Regions from separate parts of the Homo sapiens genome. Here region 2 is linked to region 1. Evidence: promoter capture Hi-C in human tissues and cell types (Jung and others, 2019). All regions are on one chromosome and are shown on one strand. Each heading gives the region's core, a stretch centred on a gene start or on the middle of the fragment in contact. The rest is flanking DNA. Distances are from core to core; before and after follow the strand shown. Region 1 holds the start of ATP6V0E2 (ATPase H+ transporting V0 subunit e2). Region 2 overlaps LINC00996 (long intergenic non-protein coding RNA 996).

Region 1 (2,943 bases), core at 288-2,787:
CTCCTGGATGCCAAGTGCACCCTTATCCTAGGCCAGTGTTCTCAACAATGTACACACTCTGGATGAGAAAAATAACCATTGTTTACAATCCAGCTAAAATCTCACCTCCTCCAGGGAGTCTTCCTGGATTTCTCCACCCTCTGAATTCTCATAATGGGCATTTGGCTACTTTGATCACAGGGCTCTTAGAACTGCGCTGTCCAGCATTATGATTTTACCAGAATATATCACTCCTCAACTACTTTAGAAACCCCTCGAAGGCTAGGATGGTATTTTATACCTAACAGTTTGGTGTCATCCCACGCCCACCTCCAACTTACATGAATGTTGGAAGGATGGATAGGGAGGTTTCAACTAGAGAACGGAGAAGGGCGGATGTAACTGGTTCTTGATTTCAGAAAACAGCCAGGAGCACACATGGCTGACGGGGTCAGTGCAAGGACAGGCACATTTCCCTTCTGCATCACGTGGGGACTGCGCCTCCCTATGTCATGAAGCCAGGGAATATGTGTGGCCGGCCGCTTGGGGTAGCACTTGTTGCTAGAGATACCGCCTGGAGGCCACTGATCTGTAAAAGGGATCTCTACAGAAGATAGGGATTTTTGATCGCCAGAGAAGAAGGGATATGTGAGATCCAAACGCCGAAGGAGGAAAGCAGGCTCCGTGGTCTCTTCCAGCCCTGATGGAAGAAACTACCGAGCCTTATTATACTAGGTGCTTTCCACATGCCTATTCATTTAATCCTCCAGCAACCTTGTAAGAAGGGCCATCCCATTTTATATTTAAACAAACCTTAACTACTGACGCAAGGAGTCAAGGATCTAATCCCAAAGCCTCTGCCTGGTTCGCTGCAGATGGATGTCCGCGAGGACGCCAGCCCTCCGCCTCCCGCCGGGTCCCTGAACGCCGGCCCGGCCGGTCCAACCTCATTCCGCTTCCCGCCATCGAAACGCGAAGCCCCCGCCTTCCCCCAAACGTCTCAGCGCCGCTGGGGCCTTTCTGGCTGCGCCGCCTCCGACCCCAGGCCCCGGTCCGCGCCCGCCGCTCGCTAGTCCTGGGAGTGAGGAGAACGCGTGCTGAGGACCCGGCCAGAGGGACAGCGGGGACCGCCCTCCCGCTGCGTCTCTGAAAGCGAGGCCGTTCCTCCCGCGTCCGACCCCCGCGGGGCCGTCAGGTTCGGGGCGGCCCAGGCTGCGGGTCCGCAGGGCGCTTCGGGCCGAGCCGGCGCGGCGCGTGAAGGGCAGGGGACGCCCCGAAAGACCGCTGGGGTGGGACCCCAAGCTCCAGGGGTCTTTGGAAATAAGAATGCGGCGTGACGTTGGCTGTGCGGGCGCGGGGCTGACGCGGACCCTATAACCCATCGCCGAAACCGGGCGGCCGCGCCCCTATTCCTCGGCATTTCTCTCTGTCCGCGGCCCTGCTCAGCCAATCAGCGAGTGGGCTCCTAGGCAGGTCCTGAGTGACAGCGCGGCGGGCTGGATCAGGAGATGCGCGTGCGCGGCCCGGCCCGGCTGATCGCTTCGGGTGCTCGACTCCTGTTGCGCATGCTCAGCGCGCTGCCCGGCTGGGGACCCGCGCACCTGCAGCGCCCGCTGCTCGGCCCTGCATCCTGCCTGGGCATCCTGCGCCCGGCCATGACGGCGCACTCATTCGCCCTCCCGGTCATCATCTTCACCACGTTCTGGGGCCTCGTCGGCATCGCCGGGCCCTGGTTCGTGCCGAAGGGACCCAACCGCGGGTAAGGAAAGCGCGCAGGCCCTGCAGACCTCTCCACCCCGGCCCCCTGGCCCGGCTCGCCCCTCCGCCCCGGGGCGGCGGCTTCCTGCTCTGCAGCGAGCGTCCGCAGGAGGGACGCCAGGACCCCGGACGCCACCTCTGAGGTCTCTCTGCACCTGGGTCTCTGACAGCCGGGAACAGGCAGGAGGTGGGGCGAGAGGGCATATCCAGAAGGTAAAGAGGAGAGTGACATTGGAGATGTCTGTCACCCCTCCTGCAGCCAGTAAAGGGCACAAGTGGGCACTGACGCAGTTTCTCCACTCCTTGCTAGCTGTGTGACCTAGAGCCAATATCAAGTCTCAGTTTCTTCATGGGTAAAATGGAGATAATGTCGACTCCTGCCTTAAAAGGCTGCTGTGAGGATGACCTGCGGTAACGCATTTAAAACACCTACCAGTGCGTGACACTTTGTAGGTATGGGATAAGTTTAGCTGGCGTTATTTTTCGAAGGTCCTCTAGCAGATTGCTGCGCCATTCACCAGTTTCTGCTTCATATTATCTTCAGTTACAAAGCACCCTTCCCTTGACTGCATGTTCCCAGGGGCTGGAGTTTGTCCAGTTCACCATTGTCTACTCAGTGCCCAGCCAGGACTGGCACAACCTGCTTAGTAATGTTGAAAAAGGGATCGCGTGCTCCTGTGTCCAGCACCAGCTTGCAGTGCTTTAGATCAAAGATCAAGGGCCTCGTTTGGATTAGAGTTAGCTTTGCCCAAAGGCCGTTTGGACATGTGAGTGCTGCCTTTGTTCTTAAAGACAGGCAGGGTTTGGGATCCCACAGCTTCACTTTGTAAACCATTTTCGTGTCTTGCGTCTCCTGCTATTCTTGGTGAGTTCTTGCTTCAGTTTGACTGAAATTTCTTTTGCTGCACTTGAAGCATCTGTCTCTGGTCTTCTCTGAGTACACGCAAAGTGGCTAGTCCCTGTTCTCTTTGTAACAACTCACTGGGCCTCAGAACTGGCTCACAGTCTGCCTGCTTCTTGCCCTGTCTTCTAGCCTATTGTTTTCCTTCCCCTTGCTCCATGAATTTTGAATTCTACAGACCACTCCCTGTTGGGTTGCCACAAATGCAGCTCTGTGCAGTGCCTTTCCACAACACGTCTGCATTAAGATGGAGCAATATTGGGTGGTAGAGAAGGGAAATGAAGGGAAGGATTCTTAAGGCAACT
Region 2 (2,921 bases), core at 19-2,518, 570 kb after region 1:
CTTCCGCCCTGGGTTGAGGGGAGCATTTCCAGCGAGGGGGCGAAGAGGTGAGAGCAGCTGGGGAGAGCCAGGGGCTGAGGGCCCTTTGCTTTCTGAAGTGTGGCGTCATCACGGGTGCTGAAGGAGACACAGGGTGGCTGCGTGATCAGTCTCTGCCCTGGAATCTCTGTGTTCAGCCCATGTCATCTTCTCAGGAGTGATGGAAGCTCCCACTGGAGAACACTTTCTGGTCTTGAGCCCCCCGATCTCTTGATCCCTATGGCAGTGAGCCCCGACTCTTGCTCTGGTCGCCACTGGATCATCTGTGGGTGTTGGCAGGAACCTGAAGGTGTTGGAAGGGGTTGAGGGTAACGCATAGCCTGTGCTAGAATATGTGGGGGAATGTCCACAGGAGACGGGATGGAAGAGAGAGAAGAGGACGCCCCTGCTTCCAGGGGCAAGTGGGTACAACCAGAGGACGGGACAATGTTCCCCTGGAGAATGGCCCAGGCTCCATCTAGACCTGGCTGGTCCCAGTCCCAGGCTTGTCCTAGGTCCTTGGCATCCGTGCTGGTAGCAACCCCAGGGCCACCCTCAGCGTCTCATGACGTCTACCCTTCTCTGGCCCCTGTAGAAATTATGTTCAAGAGAAAACACCCGGGGGGTCACAATGATAACAATAACACCACCACCTGTGCCCCGTGGGTGTGAGGCTGTCATGGAGAAAGCAGAGCTCCTGAAGGGGCCTCAGCTGAGAAACGGCTAGAATTTCCTGTGTGGGTTGTGGGGAGTGACTATGGAATTCAGAGGCAGAGCGGAATCTACTTGGGCTGTTGTGGCAGGAACCTAGACTCCAGAGGGACCCTGGTTAGGCTCTCAGAGAAGGGAGCCCCGGAAAGTGAGCCAAGGAACGGGCCTTTGTCCCCAAGGCTGGAGCCACAGGCTCTGTTTCCCTGGCCAGAGGCAAGGGGGGCCCTTTGGGGTCTCATGGTTCAGGTGGCCTCTTCTTTCTTAGGCCTCTTCCTCCAGATCCCCACTCCCCCCACGGGGCACAGCCCCATGTGTGGAGTCGGCCTTGACTCTGCCCTTCAGTCTCCCTGCCCAGAGCCGGCTGCACCGGCTGTCATTCCCCAGTCCCGCTTCCCGCAGGCCCCTACCCAGATACTGATGCTGTGGCACCCACCACCACATGGGGGACCCTGGGCAAAGCGTTAGTGCTTGACAGACATTGGGTCCTCCGGTCCCCCTCCAGTGCCATGAGCTAACAGTTGTATCCCCATCACACAGATGACAAAACTGGGAGGCAGCACGGTTCATGAGCTTGTGCAAGTTCACACAGGGCGTGATTGACGGGGCTGGGATTCAGATGCAGTTAGGACACTGCCTTATCTCAGGCTCTGCTGCTCCCCAGACTTCTTGGCCCTGACGCTCCTTTCGAGGTTATGGAACTCTCTTGAATGTCTCTGTTGGCTGCAGCCAGCCAATTAATTACCCTGCATGAATGGGGACTATGGGTGACAGTTTCCGCTGTCCCAAGTTCTGGCTGAAGTCTCCATTCTATTGGGTTAGGGGCCAGATGCCTGAGGACCTGCAGGAGGCCAGGGCTGCATGCTGAATGAGAACTTTACCTGGGCCACCAAGTCCTTCTGAGCACAGGTGCTGCTCCCTGCAGTCAGGACATGCTGGCCGGGGTCTCTGACCTTCACCTGGAATGCTCCTGGAAGCCCCTGTGTGACAATCTCCACCACAGTCAGCTGCAGCCTCACAGGCCTTGTGTCATTTCCCACTATAGGACCAGGGAACCAGGCTGACCAGAAGACCTACGAGGAGAAATAGAAAGCTTGGGAGGTTGAAGTGGAAAGCCAGGTGTCCATTTCTCTGCCTGCAGAATGAGTCCCCAGGGAGCCCAGCGGCCAGGGCAAGGTGTCAGGGGCCCCGTCACAGCTGCGGGAAGGCCACATGGGGGGCAGCTGTGGGCATGGGGCCAGAGCCCAGGAAGCTGTGGCTCTGGGGGAGGGTTTGTGCCCCTGGGATGTCTGAATGCAGCTCTGGGGTGGGGCCAGCCTGGGCCTGGAGCTCCTGCAGGCTGGTCTAGTGCCAGGCCCGGGGGAAGGCAGAGTCAGAGACTGGGGGACTTTGCTTCTGCTCACTGTGTCTCCAGTGTCAGGAGCTGGCTCAGGACTCGTGAATGTCCACATCAGAAGAGGGGCTTAAGCCATGAGGATTGAGGCTTCCCTCCAGACCTGAGTGGGTGGGGAGGGGAGAGGGTGAGGGCAATGGCCACACCTGCTCCATCCACTCCCTGGAATAAAGGAGTGGTGTTTTTTTCATTCCTCACTCACTCATTCTTCCATCCCTGGTGTGCCAGGCCCCGTTTTGGTGCTGGAATAGAGTCATAAGCAAGACAGACATAGTCCCCACCTTCAGAAAGCTTTTGTTTGGTGCAATGGTGTGGAAATGCATCTTGAATATTACAGAGGAACAATTTGGAGTGGAGCTCAAGTCATTCCAGAAACTCCCACTTTTTAAAAATTTTATTTTATTTTGTATTTTTACATACATTTTTTGAGACAAGGTCTTGCTCTGTTACCCAGTCTGGAGTGCAGTGGTGCAATCATAGCTCACTACAGCCTATACCTCCTGGGTTCAAGTGATCCTCCCATCTCAGCCTCCCAGGTAGCTGGGACCACAGGTGCATATCACCAAGCTCAGCTAATTTTAAAACTTTTTTTGCAAAGATGGAGTCTCTCTATGTTTCCCAGGCTGGTCTTGAAATCCTGGCCTCAGGGGATCTTCCCTTCTTGGCCTCCAAAAGTGTTGGGATTACAGGTGTGAGCCAACACATCCAGCTGTCCCCACTTAAAATTTTTTTTTTTTTTTTTTTTTTGAGACAGAGTCTCACTCTGCTGCCCAGGCTGGAGTACAGTGGTGTGATCTTGGCT

What was found. Contacts are between HindIII fragments. The study calls those that stand out against the background at their distance.
Region 2: a contact is called between a fragment that was not itself captured here and the fragment with the promoter of ATP6V0E2 in region 1, in 1 of the 25 tissues and cell types used here (mesenchymal stem cells).

Annotation. Positions count from the first base shown.
Region 1 is chr7:149,872,432-149,875,374 of GRCh38, forward strand. ATP6V0E2 (ATPase H+ transporting V0 subunit e2) reads left to right here and starts at 1,538. Exons shown (of 4, transcript NM_145230.4): 1 at 1,538-1,738. The coding sequence starts at 1,635. ATP6V0E2-AS1 (ATP6V0E2 antisense RNA 1) reads right to left here and starts at 1,431. Exons shown (of 4, transcript NR_027040.1): 1 at 793-1,431. RefSeq lists silencers at 1,065-1,274, 1,305-1,384, 1,795-1,974 and enhancers at 1,337-2,305, 1,635-1,774. The HindIII fragment of the contact is 13,669 bases long and covers 1-2,943 here.
Region 2 is chr7:150,443,216-150,446,136 of GRCh38, forward strand. All of the region lies in intron 2 of LINC00996 (long intergenic non-protein coding RNA 996), which reads left to right. Among named protein-coding and RNA genes, the nearest start is that of GIMAP8, 6.0 kb to the right of the region's middle. The HindIII fragment of the contact is 6,263 bases long and covers 1-2,921 here.